Regions from separate parts of the Homo sapiens genome. Here regions 1, 3 and 4 are each linked to region 2. Evidence: promoter capture Hi-C in 16 types of primary human blood cells and fetal thymus (Javierre and others, 2016). All regions are on one chromosome and are shown on one strand. Each heading gives the region's core, a stretch centred on a gene start or on the middle of the fragment in contact. The rest is flanking DNA. Distances are from core to core; before and after follow the strand shown. Region 1 has its middle 9.8 kb from the start of DAPP1. Region 2 holds the start of C4orf17 (chromosome 4 open reading frame 17). Region 3 overlaps LAMTOR3 (late endosomal/lysosomal adaptor, MAPK and MTOR activator 3). Region 4 overlaps DAPP1 (dual adaptor of phosphotyrosine and 3-phosphoinositides 1).

Region 1 (2,700 bases), core at 61-2,560, 300 kb after region 2:
TTCAGGCTGGAGTGCAATGGTGCAACCGTAGCTCACTGCAGCCTCAAACTCCTTGGCTAACATGATCCTACTGCCTCAGCCACTGAGCAGCAGGAACTATAGGCATGTGCCACCATACCTGGCTAATTTTTTAAAGCTTTTTCTAGAGGCAGGCTGTCTTTGCTATTTTGCTCAGGCTGGTCTTGAATTCCTTGCTTCAAGCAATCCTCCCACGTTGGGCTCCCAAACTGCTAGGATTGCAGGCATAAGCCACCATGCTTGGCTATGTCTGCTATTTAATGTTAAGTTTTTATGTAAGCTGTGTTATAATGCAAACTTTCCTCCATTTCTCTAAGCAAAACTTTAGTCAAGTCTGCTATCCTTGACCGTTTGACAAGACAGCTGCACTTAGAGGCACCATGTCTACTGTTTGGTCAGGTGGTACAGAGAGAAGAGAACAACCTCACAAGGCACGCTGGCTGACTGGCTCAGTGGCTTAGATGTCAATGGAAGCAGGAAGTAAGAGGAACAGAAACTATGATATTGTAAGCCCCCAGAATTCATGGAAATCTCACTGGATTGTCAGATCACTGGATTGGCCACAGCATGTGAGATAGGGAAGCCTGGAGGGGATATTCTTTTCATTAATTAAAGGAAAGGGTTAGGGGACTTGGATTCCCTCAACCCAACAGGCTGAGGTGACTTGGATCACTTAGGAAGCAATAACACTACTGAGCATCATCATGCCCTTTCCTTCCAGGACACAAAATCTTGCTAGAGAGTAGGCAAGATTAGGTTGAGTTAAGGCCAAGAACAACCACCAAGACCTGCCTGCCCTTGGCCCTGAAGCCGTGAATCCTCACCTATAAGGATTCTTCCTCCCAGGGACTCCCTTTTTTACTCCCAGAAGTCCAGCTCCATCCCTTTCCTATTTGCCCTTGTCTGTCAGACTGGTTTGTATCCTAAGCCTGGATCAAGTTAAGTCCCCCACCATGGGACCTCTGGTCATCTGGATCATCAGTGTCATCGAGCAACCTATTACCCTAAGAAGGCCTTGTTTGCTGAGAGCACTTGGAGGATCTCCACAGGGAGCCGCCAACTCCTGATGCCAGCATAGCTGAGTCTCAGCTGAGCTGCAGCCAAGAGTTACTGAGACAAAAGAGTTTGAGGTTACTTAGTTGATACCTCCAAGCCCGAAAACCTTTCTTGGTTTTGGAAGTCCTTCTTTTTCTCCTTACACAGCCCATTGCTCGTGAGCACACACAGATGGTCCAAGGAATGACAGGCTTCTTTTGTGATGGGTGTTGACTGACACAAACGTGGATAGCTTATTAGGTCACAAGGTACCATCTTTTCTTGGCACAGGCTTATGGCACTCGTTATTGCCCCAGGAGCCCACAGACCCGTCACCACATTACTTTTGGTCTGCAGGCTCTTCCACAGACTCGGGTGCTCTTCAACCTTTGCCGAACATCAGAATCACCTGGGGCAACTGTCCAAGATGCAGGCCCCAGGGCCCTGTGCCTTGGGGATTTTGAGGCTGGTGGTGCACAGCCTGTCCTGGGAGAAGCCCTGCTGCAGCCCTTAGCTTTCAGCTTCCAGTGTGTCACCTCCATGCTCCCCACCCTCCAGGGTCTTCTGAAGCCTTTATTTTTGCTCTGATGTGGCCCCCTTCAGGGCCAGGTTTATCCTTTTTGCTTCGGGTGGATTACTGGTTCAGTCACCTATCACACCATCCTGTCAGTACTCTCTTTTATAGTTCTCCTGCTCTCTTCACATTTTTTTTTTAACCACTCATAGTTCCTCATAATTTTGCTCTTCCTCCTGCTTCCATCCCCCACCTAACCTTCTGGATAAAATTCACTTTGTGTCTGGGCACAATGACGGATGCCTGTAATCCCAGCACTTTGAGAGACTGAGGCAGGAGGATCACTTAAGGCCAGGAGTTCAACACCAACCTGGACAACACAGTGAGACCCCCATCTCAAAAAAAATCATCTCTATAATGTCTCCTTTAGATAGACAGAACAAAAACATTTACATGTTAAGAGAAACTTCTCTTTACCACCCTTAAAATATTTAAAATACCAAAGATCTCATATTTATATGATTAACAGAGAAAACTCAGACCCATGGGCCACCCAGGAACAGTGACAAAATCTACTTCAAAGTTGTTGCTGTGGCTGAGTCACTGTCTCTGTAATCGGGGAGCTGTTCCCAAGCTGCCTTCACTGTAACGCTGAGAACCCTGAAGAATTTTCACTATTTCCAGTCACCGTTACTGTGACAGGGCTCTACGTTAGCAGTTTTAGAGTCACCTACATTCCTTATTTTAAATGAAAATTGAAATGCTTTGAAGATTTATATTTACCAAATGAGCTGAGGAAAAAGTAAGTGCTTAAAATATATTGCAATTGCAGAAATGAAAATCATTTTTAGGTATAAAATTGAATTTTTAGATTTCAATCACTTCCTACTCATTTAAATTCTTTCAGTAAAGGTCTCAAAGCTTTAAAGGGAAAAGAGAGCAGAACTAAGAATTGAACCATTTAAAACTTGGTGAGACAGGTAATAAATTATACCTGAATCATTTAATGGTTTAGTAGTCTGGCGTTTAAGGAATCTTCTACAAATGTGGTGTTGGGTAGTATCACCTGAATTCAGCTACTTTAATAAAGAACTATACTTTCATAGAGAGGAAGGAAAAAGCGATGGATCTAA
Region 2 (2,700 bases), core at 40-2,539:
TCAGGATCTGTGGTTGAGATTGCTTTTTATAACCCGATTTATACTTTCTCCCTCTCTTGTTAGAGCCCCTGTTTTAGAATGGGGTGTCAATGTGCCCTGTTAAGAAACTACATTTTCTATCCTTTCTTGTAGCTATAAATCATCAATGCAACATAGATTATTGTCTGAGACTCATGAGAAGGCTCTTACAAAGAGAGCAGATAGCTAGCATGTGCCCTTGTCAGCCCTTACCTCCCCAACCTTCCTCTTGTTTCCTGCTTGGAGTACAGATTTGATATGTGCAAATATAGCAGCCATCTTGGATGACTGGAACTTCAGGAACCATCTTGAACAAGGGATAATTTCAAAAATGGAAGCCTAATATTAAGAAAGATGGACCTAAAACATAGATGAAGCCAAGGTCCATAATGATGCTTCATAAAGCTTCCATACCAACCCTAGATGGTTGAACTCTTCCATGTGAGGAAGAAATACACATCTATCTTACTTAGAACACTATTTCTGATCTCTGTTATTAGCTGTGTAATAAAGTTTCTCAACTGATACAAAGTGAAAACTAAAAATCTCAGAATACAAAAATTACCTTAGAAAGTCAATTAGATCTCCCATAAAATTCCCCATAAACTACAGTAAAACAGGGAGGCATAAGGCATAAGAATGGGTTATAGGCAAAGGCAATTAAACCTTTAATTCTTGGGCCAGTCAAGAAAACAGACAAATTAGGCTCTATCCTTGCATTGTTTTAAGCTAGTATTTGCCTTTCAGAAATTGTCTATATTGCTCTTAGAGATTGTAATTCAGAAATTCAAAATCATGTGTATTCTGAAAAGTCTTGTGAAGCACCGCATGTACATGTGTGTGTGTTTCTCTATGACTTCTAATTAACATTTCAATATTTTTTCATGGCTATTGAACATGTCATCAGCACAGACATCCTGACTACCAAAGCAGTATATTCCATTCACAACTATTAGAAACTCCTTAAAAGCATGTATACCTTCTCCCCGTTGGTTTTGGATTAAGCTATATTTGGTTATATCATAATTGTTCTTTAAGCAGAATTGTGGGAAAAATTATAAATTTGATTTATATTGCTCTCTGTTTTATTTTTCTTCTTTTTCTTTCTCTTGCATTGGATTTAACTCTATTATATGTCCAAAATTGAGGAAAGCCATTTGTGGCCACATGGTTTTGTCAAGTGGGTAACTGGAGGTCTGAGAAGAATAGTGGGTGAGAGGTTCTAGAACTTAGATTTTTCTAAGGAATGTTACCACGTTGCTAAGCTATGTAACATATCTTAACAACCAGGGAGCCACACAGGCTCCTTGGAGTAAGAGTGTGAGAAACTGGATGAAGACAGCTGTATTCTTTTGGAAGCGTTCGAGATTGGTCTGTCTCTACCAACTAAAAACTTCTAGCTTAAGTGCAGAGATTTAAGGAGATCAACAAAAACTCAGTCTAGACATATTATGAGGCTGGGAGGGTATCAACAGACTTGAGTTCTTGTCAGCAAGATCACCTGCTTTTAATATTGTCCTCAGGTATAATTTTAAATTCATCATTACAATAATGTTCTAAAATTTTAGGTATGATTTAGTTAATAGTCCTCAAGTTCATTCTTTTTTCAAGAGTATGTGAAAGCCAAATAAGTCTGTTTTAAGAAAATGAAATACACATTGTTTTCTTGTTGACTTTTTTTTTTTCAAAATTTAAAGTGTATCACTACCCTTTAATCTAAGAGAATTGATGTGGGACAGACACATACAGAATAACTGAATAATATCAGCTAACATTTAAGTCAATTTCATCAGGTAATAGACAAACAGACTGAAATCTAGGCAATAAAACAATTAATCTGTGGTCACTTTGCTGGTTAATGGCAAATCTGGGACCATGAATCCTATCTTTAAATTTCTGGTTTAATGTCTTTTTCACTCTCCAAATTGTCTGCTGTACTCTTTTCCCCTCAATACAAGTAAAAAGCAAATTTACTGGCTTAATTGTACAAAAGGTCCCACACCAAAAGAATGAGTAAGTCTAAAGTGTGATTTAAACAAAGAGATTAGAACTAGCTCCTCACTGTGATATTCATAAACAGCAATAAGAAAATATACTTTTTATTGCTAGATAGATATTTTCTGCATTTAATGTCTACATATATTTTACCCAACCTAGGATAATTTTAGTATTTATATATATCAAACTGAAGTTCCTGAAAACCAGATATTCTGTGGCAACAAGTCTGGGAATTTATACACCATACAGTCTAAGTATATAGCATGAAACACTTAAACATAGATTGCTTTGTTCTAAAAAGGTAGTCAACGATCTAAAAGCATCCATCCCAACAAAATCCTGAGATCAATTTCTAGAACATGAACATTTTTTGACACTGCAAATTATTCTAACCCAAAAAGTCTCTGCCATGGTTATAAATAAAATGTGTATTTCCCAATTCTGCTACGATGAATAAGATTTTCATGTAAGATAGAAAAAATACAACAAGCACCAGAAAATCATCCTTCTTAGATTTCAAAAGCATACTATTTTCAAGAAAATTTAAATAACGACTTTCTATGTTCTTAATCCAGAAATGTTCTTTCTCACATGGTTGTGAATTCACCAAGATACATAACATTATCTTTAATCTCCCAGGTCTATGACACCATAGGTGTCTAAAAATGTTAACTGTTACTCAAT
Region 3 (2,700 bases), core at 16-2,515, 380 kb after region 2:
GCGCCACTGCACTCCCAGCCTGGGTGACAGAACGAGAGTCTGTCTCAACAACAACAACAAAAAGATTAATACATAAAATAAATATATTCTTCTAAGTTAAAAACTAGGTTATATAAAACATATACTACAGATATTTGTACATAAGCCAATTATTTTGTGCAGTTACCAAAAGCAACATCATTTGAAACAGTAAAGCATTACAAATCCAACTGTCCATCAAGAAGGACAAGGTAAGTTATGATATACACCTACAAAGGAATACTCTGGAATACTCTGCAGCCATGAGAAAGAGGAAGTTCTCTATGTACCAGGAAAGATTACTCTCAAAGTTACATTCTTAAGTGAAAAAATACACAGTTTAGAACAGTGTATAGAAGAAGCAATAAATTATGTACCAAAATATGCAGGCATATGTGTATGTTGTGTGTATAAATACGTGTATATACATGTCTGCTCATAGGTACATAAAATATCTCTGTAGGTAATGGTGGGTGCCTCTTTGAGGGGAAACTGTGCATGTGGCTGGAGAGGAAGGATGGGCAGCTTCTCACTCTATGTTCTTCAGTTAAGTCTTGAATCTGAACTCTGTGAATGTACTACTTACCCCCAAAATAAATTAAAAAGCAGGTAAAAAGAGGACCACAAAAATGTTTAGAAAAATTAGTGCCACCACAGGTAGCTTCTTTTTTTAAATTTCCATGGAAATTACTTTAAATACAACTAATGCTCCAAAGAAAATAAAAGGACTTTCTTTTTGATGGACTTCACAGAGAAATGAATCAAGAAAGTAGAAAAATTACTTACACTCTTAAGTATATAATTTTAGAAATCAGGTCACAAATATAAAAGCTGTTTTCAATTCTACATACAATGCGCAAAGAGTAATATAAATAGAATTTACTAATAATTAAAAATAACTGGCTCATTAAGAGATACTACACTTTTAGAAGAAATGAATTAAATTTTGTGAAATATTCTGAAGAAATCTAAACCTTAAGCTTACTAAAACAACCATTTTTTTCTAAAAACAAATGTTGCATTACTAATCAAAGACATCGGATTTAGTTTTATACACATAATTATGAAATATTTGGTTGTTTTAAAACATACAAAGTGGGATTATTAAAGCCTGAGACTGCTTTGGGTCACAACCAGATTTTAAATTGCAAATACAAGAACGATATTTTGCAGAGAATTCAAAAAACGCACAAAAACACACATTCCATTAGTATCCGTAGCTGGCTGACTTTGTTACTGAGAGGCACTGAGGTACAACAGTTAAAAGCATGAATCCATGGCTCTGAAGCAGGATGCCTGCATCCAAACCCATACATCTAGCAACAAATCAAAGCGTATATTCTACTATTCTTCATAAATGTTCAAAACATTATTATTTCTTCATTATTACTGTTCTGGGATGCAATAAGCCTATTTTCAATAAATGATATAATGAGTTGAACTGGCTTTTTTTCATTATTAAAAAAAAAACTGACAGTACTAATACCTTTCCTGCCATTATGAAAGATTTTCATAAAGCTTTTAACAAATATCCTTTAACTGAATTTATTTCTTGGATAAGCACAACAACCTGATATTTCCCCTTTTGTTAAAAGATAAGAGACATCTAAATTCAAAGAAGAAGCAAGCATTTACTTTCCAACTATTTTTGATCAACATTAGAACTACTCAGTAATATAATAAATACTTTTGGTATTATTCTCTAATTCCTTTACACAGACAGCTTCATCATATCCAGTGTCACACGCTATTATGATTTTGAGAGCACACTTAATAGTTAAAATGAGATCCCCATTGTCTGAAACATTTTTATTGCTTATAATCACAGATGATGTAATTAGAATCAATTATTGCTTTATTAGATCTCCAGGTGACTAATGAGTATCTTTCTGGTCGGTTTATAACTTAAGAACATTGAATGCAATTTTGCTGTTTCTTCAATAAGAGATGCTAACACTCAAAAGAGGACTGTAAATCACTAAGACTTCTAAGTGAATTAACTATGTACTATTAACTATTTCATCATATCACCAGCGTAGTGGGGTATCTCTCCGTCCCAATTTGAGCGCCCTTTCATTACGCTAAGGTAACTACAGAAAAACACAGAAAGCCCTCATTTTGCATAGTTCCAATATGCACATTTTAGTTACTATGGTTAAGTAATACCACTCCCTGCAGAAGAGCACAGGTCAAATTTTAGTTAGCATGGCATAATACCTCAATAACTACGTAAAGTATAAACTTTTCTAACTCTTTAGTCCACAAATCACTACATAAATAATTATGTAATTAACAGATGCACACTGTCATCAGTAACCAGCCACATCATTTCTTTCAAAGTATGTTGATGGTTGGTCACTGTGCATCTGTTATGCAGCTCATGCAGAGATAGCAAAGCATGTAGTTTTGTACCTCCTTGTCTCCCAATGATAAAGTATGTGACATTTAGAAAAAGAGATAATAAAAAGAGGAAACTGGCCAACAAAGACGAAATACAGCAAAGAAATGAAAAGTAATAATGCTGAAATTTCAAATAGAAATGCTGAATTTCAAATAGAAAGTAAAGAATTATAGAAGAAACAGATGACCAAGGGAATGCTGACACTATCGCTCTAGATACACAGAGAACTCAGTGAAGGCAAACTTATTGACATAAATGAGGAAAGCGGTTGTGACGAAAAT
Region 4 (2,700 bases), core at 191-2,690, 320 kb after region 2:
GTTGCCCATGCACACCAAGCCCATGTCCACTCCAGTGCCTTTGCTTATGTCATTTCTCCTCTCAGAATGCCTCTCACTGCCTAATGAATCCTATATTCATTCTTCATACTGCAGTTTATCATTCTCCCGCTCCATGAAGTTTTCCCTGATCATTCCAGCCCACTGTGAGCTCCCCTTCCTATGCTATAATATTTACTGTCCATATCACTAAGATAGCAGCTATTTGGTGATTCTTCTATGTTAACCTGCAGATCCTTCTCTTTTCCATTCTGTTGGTACTGAAAAGTCACTTAGTACTTTGCTTTGCCCTTCTCTTCAAATGCCAAATTCTGTGAACTCAAACTGTTCACATTATTGAAGTGAATTAAAGTTTTCAGGCCCAAGAGTCCTTCCCATACATGCTCCTCAAACTCTAAAGTGCATAACAATCACGTGGGACTTAGCAGGTTGAGGGAGGGGCCTGAGGTTGTGTGTGGTCCATGTTGGCTGCTCATTAGCAACTCTTTTCACTTGACACTTCCCAGTAGTAAAAAGTTTCTTATTGCACCTGATTTTAAAACCATCACTCTTGGCTGGGCGCGGTCTGTAATCTCAGCACTTTGGGAGGCTGAGGCGGGCGGATCACGAGGTCAGGAGATCGAGACCATCCTGGCTAACAAGGTGAAACCCCGTCTCTACTAAAAATACAAAAATTAGCCAGGTGTGGTGGTGGGCACTTGTAGTCCCAGCTACTCGGGAGGCTGAGGCAGGAGAATGGCGTGAACCCGGGAGGCAGAGCTTGCAGTGAGCCGAGATCGAGCCACTGCACTCCAGCCTGGGCAACAGAGTCAGACTACGTCTCAAAAAAAAAACAACAAAAAAACAAAACAAAAAACACCATCACACTTATAAGTGCAGATGAAGGAAATGACCTAATTGGAAGTTTTAATCAACAGTAAGTCCAGTGTGAATCAGCTATGTGATGCAATTGTGAAGAAACTAATGCATTCTCGGGCTGCCTTATGTGTGCCCAGCAGCCAGAATAAGGGAGCTCCTGTGCTGCTTTGTTTTGCAGGTCAGAGTTTAACGTTAAGACAGATTTTTTAAGTTTGAAAGGTTTTCAGATGAGATGAGTTCTTTGGGTGATAAGGTCCCTGGATGATAAAGGAACTGAAAGCCTGTCATAAAAGGAAAAGCTGAAGATGATGGAAAGAGAAGAAGGTGCATTCTAAATGCTTTCAACTCTTTCTATAAGTATCATCTATGTAACTCCAAGAAGTAGCTCTGAAACCATCTGCTGAAAGCCATCTACACAGCAAAAAATGGCAATTCATTGTAGCCCAAGAGTTTTCTAACCATGAATCATGAACATATGGATTAAGCTTGCCTATACAAGTACTGAGTTCCCCATCATTAGCAATATGTAGGCAAAGATTGGATAAGAGTACTATAGAGTTTAGAAATTATTCAAACACTGTTGTTGTGCATTTCTGACAAGATCCCAGGTGATGCTGATGCTGTTGGTCCATACTTTAAGTAGCAAAGCTTTGCACTGTGGTTTAAACATCAGGTACAACCCGTTAGTAGGCTTAAAGTGAATTTAATGGGTCACATCAATATTCATTCAAAATAAAGAGAAAACAATATATTCAAGTTAATAGCCTATAGAAAGATAGGTGTTACGTCCTGTAACTTTTTGTTTTTTGTGCGTCTTTGTGACATATGTATGTTTATATATATACAGAGTGATATAAAATGTATTTTGTACTGTGAGTCAATTCAAAAAATTTAAAAGCCTCTCCTTTAAAGAACAGAACAAATGAGGTATAAAGTTAGATTAGTAAATTAAAACAGTAAAACCCAGTGGGATAAGAAACTATGAAGGTTCCACTATTCTGGAGCAATTTTCCAGAAGATTCTAGCTCAAAGAGGCCCCAGAATGAAAGGAAAGGAAGCTGAACCGAGGACCAGCTTTCTGGATCCAGCCTGTCCACATTCTCTGTGGCTGAGTTTATTTTCTGTATCTTACTAAGAGGCAGCTATGAAAATTCTTTAGTGGGTGGTGTTTCCTAGTTTTTTACTGTATCATGGAAAGGATAATATCACTGTTTCCTTCAAGTTGAATTGCTGGTTTTCATAATCTTATAAACCCAGTACAAATATTCTTTTGGAGCTTGATTAGTCTTTTCTCTGTTGACTTTATCAGACTTGAGACATAATTATGGCAATGTGTGGGCCTTGGGGAAAATGGAGACTATTAACATTCTTTCTAATAGGAGTTTCTTGCTCTTTTTTGCTTCTTCAGGGAAAATGAGACTAGAAGAATTTTTTTTTTAAGTTTCAAAAAATGAACCTATTCCCAACTGCATAACAGTGTGTTCCTACCACTTTGCAAATGTCTAGCATATCCATAATACATTGTTTAATTTAGCAAATCTAGTTTTTTTTCTGTAAAAGTTAAAGAATTGCATAAAAAATTTATAAAAGAAGAAAATTTTTCCAATACATGAAAATAAGAAGGTTCTCTGGCCAGGCGCAGTGACTCATGCCTGCAATCCCAACACTTTGGGAGGCTGAGGTTGGCAGATCACCTGAGGTCAGGAGTTTGAGACCAGCCTGGCCAATATGGTGAAACCCTGTCTCTATTAAAAATACAAAAATTTGCCAGGTGTGGTGGTGCACACCTGTAGTCCCACCTACTCAGAAGGCTGAGGCAGGAGA

Evidence for each region. The method cuts DNA at HindIII sites, captures the fragments that hold promoters and counts their contacts. A CHiCAGO score of 5 or more calls a contact.
Region 1: a fragment that was not itself captured here is called in contact with the fragment with the promoter of C4orf17 in region 2 in 1 of 17 cell types (endothelial precursors); the score reaches 5.4 in endothelial precursors.
Region 3: a contact is called between a fragment that was not itself captured here and the fragment with the promoter of C4orf17 in region 2, in 1 of 17 cell types (activated CD4 T cells). The highest score is 5.4, in activated CD4 T cells.
Region 4: a contact is called between a fragment that was not itself captured here and the fragment with the promoter of C4orf17 in region 2, in 1 of 17 cell types (endothelial precursors). The highest score is 5.8, in endothelial precursors.

The regions. Positions count from the first base shown.
Region 1 is chr4:99,805,699-99,808,398 of GRCh38, forward strand. No RefSeq gene overlaps it. Among named protein-coding and RNA genes, the nearest start is that of DAPP1, 9.8 kb to the right of the region's middle. The HindIII fragment of the contact is 2,352 bases long and covers 135-2,486 here.
Region 2 is chr4:99,509,732-99,512,431 of GRCh38, forward strand. C4orf17 (chromosome 4 open reading frame 17) reads left to right here and starts at 1,290. Exons shown (of 9, transcript NM_032149.3): 1 at 1,290-1,541. The HindIII fragment of the contact is 4,126 bases long and covers 422-2,700 here.
Region 3 is chr4:99,889,151-99,891,850 of GRCh38, forward strand. All of the region lies in intron 3 of LAMTOR3 (late endosomal/lysosomal adaptor, MAPK and MTOR activator 3), which reads right to left. Among named protein-coding and RNA genes, the nearest start is that of LAMTOR3, 3.9 kb to the right of the region's middle. The HindIII fragment of the contact is 538 bases long and covers 997-1,534 here.
Region 4 is chr4:99,826,692-99,829,391 of GRCh38, forward strand. All of the region lies in intron 1 of DAPP1 (dual adaptor of phosphotyrosine and 3-phosphoinositides 1), which reads left to right. Among named protein-coding and RNA genes, the nearest start is that of DAPP1, 11 kb to the left of the region's middle. The HindIII fragment of the contact is 163 bases long and covers 1,360-1,522 here.